3 separate regions of the Homo sapiens genome follow, and all the other regions are linked to region 1. The links are contacts of gene promoters, found by promoter capture Hi-C in human tissues and cell types (Jung and others, 2019). All regions are on one chromosome and are shown on one strand. Each heading gives the region's core, a stretch centred on a gene start or on the middle of the fragment in contact. The rest is flanking DNA. Distances are from core to core; before and after follow the strand shown.

Region 1 (2,719 bases), core at 109-2,608:
GTAGCATCATTACGAGATTACTAATTTTACGCTAAGCTGAAAGGGCATTCTTCATAAAGTAGTAATTTTTTGCCCTTTTGCTAATTGATCGTTTCTGAAACCATTCCCAAAAGGAAGACTCCTAAAAGGAAACTTACTTCTTATCATGCTAAGCGGGGAGGAAGTAAAAGAAAAGTGAGGGATATTGCTCAATCGATAGTACAGTATTGTTCGCCATCTGAAAAAAACCACTCAGAATTAAATAAGGAAAGTTTCCAGACAAACTTTAAAAGGTATTCAAACAACTCCTATGTAGAATTGGCTTCACCTCTGCAGGTTGATTGGGTACATCCCTGTTATGAGAAAACTTGTCGTATTCTTCCAAGTCCCTAATTGCGAGTAAGAGGCTAGGCTAGAACATGACATTCATAGTAGCCAAAATCTTTCTCCTAAATCAGGACATGCCAACGATCCCACTTCTTCACAGGTAAGACCACCACCCCGACTTTGGTCTAGATAACGGCTATGGGGGGAGGGGAAAGGAGGCAGGAAAATGAATTCGCGATGGTGTTACTGAAGAACCCTCCGGTTATTTCTCCTGAGACCCCTCCACGACTTATTCCCGCCACCACCACCCCCACCTGACCTCTCCCCAGTTAACTTCCAGACTCTGATGTACTAAAGATGCACTAAAGATGCACTTAAGAATCTGACACCTCCCCTCCCTGGGCCTAGATATCCCACCCCAGTGCTGGGGAACGTCGGGGGGAGGAAGGCAAACAACGGCCCCCTCCCCTCCCCCCCACCCAGCACCAAATCTTTGTCCCACCTGCCGAGGGACCGCTCGCCAGCGCGCTCCGGACCCAAGGCTGCCTCAGACCTGCCCGCAACCTTGTCCTAACTGGGCCTCGGCGACCCCTCCACGAACCTGAGTATGGCCCATTCCCGGCCCCGGGCCGCGCCCCGCCCCCCGCCGCCCGAGTTCTGCCTCACCTCACCTACCCTCTTTCGGGGGCCGGACTCCACCTCTCTCTCCGCCATGTTGGGCCCCGCTCGGAACCGCTGCGGCTCCCCGCGCGGTGGCGGCGGTACCTCTCGGCCCCCCGGCCCCCGCCCACACTGCAGGCACGGCCGCCTCGCGGCAGCTTCCCCGGACCCGGCCGGGCCTTGCGCCGAGAGTGGGGAGGGGGCGGATGCCGCGCGCCGGGCCGCAGCTTCTGAGATCCCACGGGTCCGCGCGTGGGCGGGAGGGCCTGCCCGGGGACGGGGTGGGGGCCGGGACTCGGGGGGTTAATGGCCTCCAAGGGGCCCCGTGAGTAGGATTATTTTCTCTCAGAGAAATTCCTCCGCCTGCGGTTTCTTAAAGGGATCACCAAATCAGCCCCTTGCGCGCGCCCCTGATGCGCAGGCGCACCCTAAGTCCCTCCTTCCTTTCCCACCAAGCCCCCGGTCCTGAGCGTGCGCGGTAAGTGGCCATGGGTAGGCCAAATCCTGCAAGTCTCTTTGCTGCCAGCAGCTGCTCCCACCACTCAACTATGGCCGCTCCCTTAAAGGGACCATGACGCAGGGATGAAGGAGAAATGAAAGAAATTACTGGAAAGACAATCTGGAGAATTGGGTGCAATGTCAGTGAAGGGTTCCACATCACCATCTTACACCTGACTACAGTGGTACCATTGAAGAGGGAAAGTCATGGTAAGCTGAAGTTCTCAGTGGACCTCTGAACATGAAGAATCCCAAACCAATGAGGGAACAAGACAGTCATCTCAAGGAAAACCAACTTTCCTCCCTTTCGACTGCCTGTTCTGAAGCACAAGGCATAGAATATCAAGAGCCAACTCCTATAACCTCACCTTAAAATCAAAGCTTTTGGTGATTTTGAAGATTGAACCAACAACTGGAAATAATTTCTTCAATAGTAATTTATCCTTAGAACATCAAAATGGAGAAGGATCTTAGGGAACCATTTACTCCAGTGCTCCCAATGATAAAATTGCAGCCTGATCATGGGAAGGAATTTGTCCCAATGTAACTAATGGCTGGTGTGGAGTTGGAATCAAGATTACAGTCTCAGTCCTCCAGGCTGTCTTCAGGCGAGAGATAAATTTGGTTTAATTTGATATCCCTAGAAGATTAAAAATTGAAGTTTCATGGTATTTGGAGAATATCATAATTCTCTTGTGAAGATGTAATGATTTGCAGATGATGGGTGTCCTCATTCACCTCTATTGAAGGAGCTTGACAATCTGCCTTAAAGGATAAGCATCTTATTTCTAAGCAGGAAACCAGGAAGTAGATTTGGGTCTATCTTGTTCCAAAACTGGGTCCTAAGCTGAAAATCGCTGAAAAGAATGAGGGCTTCATTCATTCCTCTTCTGTTCATTCTAGTTCCCACAAGCTTTGGGTGCAGAAAAAATTAAGTTTATAATGATAGTTCAGGGACAGTGGGGAGACATATAGTAAGAAATACAAAGAAGATGCCTCCTGAAGGTCATTTCCCATGACAAGACATATTCAAGTGGGAATGATAACTCCTGAAGTCACAGGATAATGAGATGTAACTTCTGTTTTCTGTTTTATTTAGCACTTGGTAGCTATTCTGAAACAGATGTTTTCTAATCTGTAATATTTTGCTGAAAACTTTTGGTGAAATTGCTGGAAGTTTCCATACTGGCCTTGCTTATGCCTTTAGCACTGTCTTTAATTTCACTCCTCGGTAGGAGAGAAGAAAGAAGGACAA
Region 2 (2,719 bases), core at 143-2,642, 110 kb after region 1:
TTATAAAACTAAACACATATTGTATTCTTTTTTCTTTTTTGACTTAGAACTTTAACTTTTTTTTTTTAATTTTTTTTTCAAGAGGGAGTCTTGCTCTGTTGCCCAGGCTGGAGTGCAGTGGCATGATCTTGGCTCACTGCAACCTCTGCCTCCTGGGTTCAAGTGATTCTCCTGCCTCAGCCTCCCTAGTAGCTAGGATTAGAGGTGCATGCCACCACGGCCAGCTAATTTTTGTATTTTTAGTAGAGACGGGATTTTGCCATGTTGGCCACTCTGGTCTTGAAATCCTGACCTCAAATGATCCTCCCACCTCAGCCTCCCAAAGTGCTGGGATTATAGGTGTGAGCCACCATGCCCGACCTTTTTTTTTTTTTTTCTATTAGCTGATTTTTTCTACTGCTGTGGTTCACATTTTCCTGCTCCTTGACATGTCTAATAATTTTTCACTAGATCCTGGACATTGTGAATATCATGTTGTCGAATGTCTTACTTTTAAGAGTAATTAGTTTTGTTTTGGCAGGCAATTAGATTTGATAGAGCAAGTCTGGAGTGACTTTTTCTCTAGGCCTAATTCTAGTATTTCCACTGGATGCCTTAGGTGTATAACAAGGTTCTTCTATTCAGAATAGTCAGAATGTGAATGTCTCCCCAGCCCTTGTAAGCTCTAGGAATTGTCCAACATAAAACTCTCTAGTTGTTGTTCCTTTTTCAATAGTTGTTTTTTCTCTGACCTTGTGGAGTCTTGTTCTATACTTGCACAATTTAGTATTCTGCCAATAACTCCAAATAAATTTTATGCAGATTCTTTTTCTGTATAGCTCCCTTCTTTTTAGTATTTTGTTCCACAAGTTCCAGCTGCTTCAGCCTTATCAAACTCCAATCTCTGGCTGGGCTCAGTGGCTCATGCCTGTAATCCCAGCACTTTGGGAGGCCGAGGTGGGTGGACCACCTGAGGTCAGGAATTTGAAACCAGTCTGACCAACATGGTGAAACTCCGTCTCTACTAAATATACAAAAATTAGCCAAGTGTGCTGGCGCGTGCCTGTAATCCTAGTTACACAGGAGGCTGAGGCAGGAGAATCACTTGAACCTGGAAGGTGTAGGTTGCAGTGAGCTGAGATTGTGCTGCTACTGCAGTCCAGCCTGGGCAACTGGAGACTCTGTCTAAAAAAAAAAAAAAAAAAAAACTCTGAACTCTGTCTCCTCAATGCAGCAAGAACTCCACGCTCTTGTTTGGGTCCTCTTCTCTACACCATGGATCAGATAAAGCTTCCAGGCAGACAGCATGTGACAATCATGAGTTTCACTTTCACCCAGGCTGGAGTGCAGAGGTGCTTGCCTCATTTACTACCCTTTTTTCAAGAATCACAATCCTGTATAGCCTATTTTGCAATGTGTTATGGACTGAATTGTGTCCCCCAAAAATCCAATTGAAGTCTTAACCCCTAGTGTATCTCAGAATGTGACTATATTTGTAGATAGGGCCTTTCAAGAAATAATTAAGGTAAAATGAAGGCATACGGGTGAGGCCTTACTCCATTACGGCTAATATCTTTATGAGAAAAGGAAGAATCACCATGGATGAGTGGACCACATGAGGACCAGGAAAGGACACAGCAAGTAGACTGCCCTCTGCAAGCCAAGGAGAAAGACCTCAGAAGAAATTAAACCTGCCAACACTGCCATCTTGATCTTCTACACTCAAGAACTGTGAGAAAATACACTCCTGGCTTTTTTTTTTTTTTTTTTTCTGAAATGGAGTCTCACTCTTTTGCCTAGGCTGGAGTGCAGTGGCACAATCTCAGCTCACTGCAACCTCTGCCTCCCAGGTTCAAGCGATTCTCCTGCCTCAGACTCCTGAGTAGCTGGGATTACAGGCGCCTGCCACCATGCCCAGCTAATTTTTGTATTTTTAGTAGAGACAGGGTTTCACCATGTTGGCCAGGCTGGTCTCGAACTCCTGACCTCAAGTGATCTGACTCCTCCTCGGCCTCCCAAAGTGCTGGGATTACAGGCGTGAGCCACTGCACCCGGCCTATTTCTGTTTTTTTTTGTTGTGTTTTGTTTTGTTTTGAGACGGAGTCTCGCTCTGTTGCCCAGGCTGGGGTGCAGTGGCATGATCTCGGCTCACTGCAAGCTCCGCCTCCCAGGTTCATGCCATTCTCCTGCCTCAGCCTCCTGAGTAGGTGGGACTACAGGCGCCCATCACCACGCCCGCCTAATTTTTTGTATTTTTAGTAGAGACGGGGTTTTACCATGTTAGCCAGGATGGCCTCGATCTCCTGACCTTGTGATCCACCCGCCTCAGCCTCCCAAAGTGCTGGGATTACAGGTGTGAGCCACCGCGCCTGGCCCCTATTTCTGTTTTTTAAGCCACTAGTCTGGTATTTTGTTATGGCAGCTCTAGCAAACACATATACCATGTATGAACAGCAGTTGTTTTGTATACTTCATGCAGTTTTCTAGTTGTTTACAGCACTAAGGGAAATCTGGTACCAGTTTTCTGTCTGAGCTGGAAGCTGAATACAACAGATTTGTTTTAACAGAGACAGAACAAGTTGGAAAAAGTTATAAATAGTCACACGAATTTCCATTTTACACAGGAAAACGTAATGAACATTTTAAAAAACAGCTTAAATGAAGTAATTGATATACAATAAACTGCACATATTTGAAGTACAAACTTGATAAAGTTTGACATATGTATACACCAATAAGA
Region 3 (2,719 bases), core at 118-2,617, 67 kb before region 1:
TGGGATTACAGGTGTGAGCCACCGTGCCCGGCCCAGAAAGAGGTTTAATTGACTCAAAGTTCAGCATGGCTGGAGAGGCCTCAGTAAACTTACAATTATGACAGAAGGGGAAGCTGGCATGTCTTACATGGTAGCAGGCAAGAGCACGAAGAGCACATGAAAACTACCATTTATAAAACCATGATACCTCATGAGAATTCACTCGCTGTCACAAGAACAACATGGGGGGAACTGCCCCTATAATCCAATCACTTCCCTTTTGTAGAGACATGAGGACTACAGGTCACTCCCTTGAATGTGGGGATTACAATTCAAGATGAGATTTGGGTGGGGACACAGAGCCAAACCATATCATGTATTACATAAACAACTGAATATGATTCAGCCTTAAAAATGAAGGTAATTGGCTGGGTGTGGTGGCTCATGCCTGTAATCCCAGCATTTTGGAGGGCTGGGGTGGGCAGATCACCTGAGGTCAGGAGTTTGAGACCAGCCTGACCAATGTGGTACAGTCCTGTCTCTACTAAAAATACAAAATTATACCCAAAATACAAAATTAGCCAGGGATGGTGGCACACGCCTGTAATCCTAGATACTCGGGAGGCTGAGGCAGGAGAATCGCTTGAACCTGGGAGGTGGAGGTTGCAGTGAGCCAAGATCCCACCACTGCACTGGAGCCTGGGCAACAAGAGTGAAACTCTGTATCAAAAAAAAAAAAAAGGTAATTGTGACTCATGTTACAACATGTGTCAGAATGTTCAACATGGTACCACAAGGTTCAACATGATGAACCTTGAGGATACACTAAAGTATCATTTTTACCTTAAAAATGAAGGCAATTCTAACACATGCTACATGTATCAGAATGTTCAACATGGTACAAGAAGGTTCAACATGGTTCCACAAGGTACAACATGATGAACCTTGAGGATATGCTAACGTACACACAGTTACTACCATAGTCAAACTCTTAGAAGATAAAACTTCTAAGGTTGCCAGGGGATGAAGAGGGGGTGATGAGGACTTATTGATCAATGGGTACAGAGTTTCACTTTTGCAGGATGAAAAAGTTCCAGAGATCTGTTGCACAACAATGTGAATATACTTAACACTACTGAACTGCACACTTAAAAATGGCTTAGGTGGTAAATTTTATGGTTTTTTGTTTTGTTTTGTTTTTTTGAGACGGAGTCTCGCTCTCTCGCCCAGGCTCACTGCAAGCTCCGCCTCCCAGGTTCACGCCATTCTCCTGCCTCAGCCTCCCGAGTAGCTGGGACTACATGCGCCTGCCATCACGTCCGGCTAATTTTTTATATTTTTAGTAGAGACAAAGTTTCACCGTGTTAGCTAGGATGGTCTCGAGCTCCTGACCTCGTGATCCACCCACCTTGACCTCCCAAAGTGCTGGGATTACAGGTGTTGAGCCACTGCGCCTGGCCCAGAATTTTATGTTTTTTCCACAATTTAAAATAGTTATATATTTATATAATGAATTATCATGCATTGGTGACAAACAAATAAACAAGAACCGCATACAACAATGCAGTAAAATCTCAGAAATACGCAATGAGGGCCAGGCATGGTGGCTCACACCCGTGATCCCAGCATTTGCGAGGCAGAGGCGGACGGATCAAGAGTCCTGGTCAGGAGTTTGAGATCAGCCTTGCCAGCATGGTGAAACCTCGTCTCTACTAAAAATATAAAAATTAGCCAAGTATGGTGGTGGGTGCCTATAGTCCCAGCTACTCGGGATGCTGAGGCAGGAGAATCACTTGAACCCGGGAAGCAGAGATCGCAGTGAGCCGAGATCGCGTCACTGCACTCCAGCCTGGGTGACACAGCGAGACTCTGTCTGGGAAAAAAAAAAAAATGCAATAGGGAATAAAAGCAAGTGGTAACACACAGCATGATTCAAAAACAATACAAAGCTCAAAACCAAGCAAAACTACAAATATTCAATAATTGTGGTAAAGGAAAAGCAAGAAAATAAACACAAAATTCAGGATGATGGCTACCTTTTTGGAGAGGTGGCTACTTGTATGAGACTGGGAAATTGGCATCAAGAGCATGAAAATATACATTTTAAAAAGCTAAGTGGTTAAGCGTTTTCATAAAATATATCTTACATTGTAAGTTTATTTTGTGTTTAATAATTTATAAAAAGTTTTCGAAGTATTCCGAGAAATAACTAAGGAGTGAGAAAAACTTTCTTAAACAAGACTGAAAACCCAGATGTCATAAACGATACCAAAATGTTTAAGTGTCAAAAACATTTATTTAGCTCAAGATGACACAAAAAGGGAGTCAAATGAGGGAAATCAGAACTCCTGCCCCCATCAAAAGAACTTTACATTATGCATTCTCAAAGTTAAAAATCCTGAATGAATAGTGATTGTCTATTATGTATATCTGAATCTTCTTTCAGATGTATGCTTTACTGTGCTTACTGTGACTCACCATAACAGCTATTATTAAAATATAAAACAAGCTTACAACTTGCTATGAAGAAAAAGTAAACTTTTTTTAAAGGGCAAAAGATATTCATTCTTCAACAAATATTTATTACTAGACAATACAGAGAAAGCCAGTCTAAATGTTAAACTTATTAAAAGCTGCTCAAATTCTACAGGAGTTGAGAACATACAAATTAAAGTTAAGGCTGTGATATTTTACATCCATCAGACTGGGAAATATTAAGAAGAGCTATAATATATACTAA

Evidence for each region. The method cuts DNA at HindIII sites, captures the fragments that hold promoters and counts their contacts. A contact is called where the count stands out against the background at its distance.
Region 2: a contact is called between a fragment that was not itself captured here and the fragment with the promoter of ZMYM4 in region 1, in 3 of the 25 tissues and cell types used here (H1 embryonic stem cells, liver and mesendoderm cells).
Region 3: a fragment that was not itself captured here is called in contact with the fragment with the promoter of ZMYM4 in region 1 in 2 of the 25 tissues and cell types used here (hippocampus and mesenchymal stem cells).

The regions. Positions count from the first base shown.
Region 1 is chr1:35,267,348-35,270,066 of GRCh38, reverse strand. ZMYM4 (zinc finger MYM-type containing 4) reads right to left here and starts at 1,358. Exons shown (of 30, transcript NM_005095.3): 1 at 982-1,358. The coding sequence starts at 1,020. RefSeq lists silencers at 839-968, 1,039-1,398 and enhancers at 1,529-1,588, 1,609-1,668. The HindIII fragment of the contact is 5,206 bases long and covers 1-2,111 here.
Region 2 is chr1:35,161,024-35,163,742 of GRCh38, reverse strand. No RefSeq gene overlaps it. Among named protein-coding and RNA genes, the nearest start is that of SFPQ, 31 kb to the left of the region's middle. The HindIII fragment of the contact is 8,860 bases long and covers 1-2,719 here.
Region 3 is chr1:35,334,391-35,337,109 of GRCh38, reverse strand. The region is part of intron 2 of ZMYM4 (zinc finger MYM-type containing 4); the gene reads right to left. Among named protein-coding and RNA genes, the nearest start is that of ZMYM4-AS1, 30 kb to the left of the region's middle. The HindIII fragment of the contact is 3,886 bases long and covers 1-2,719 here.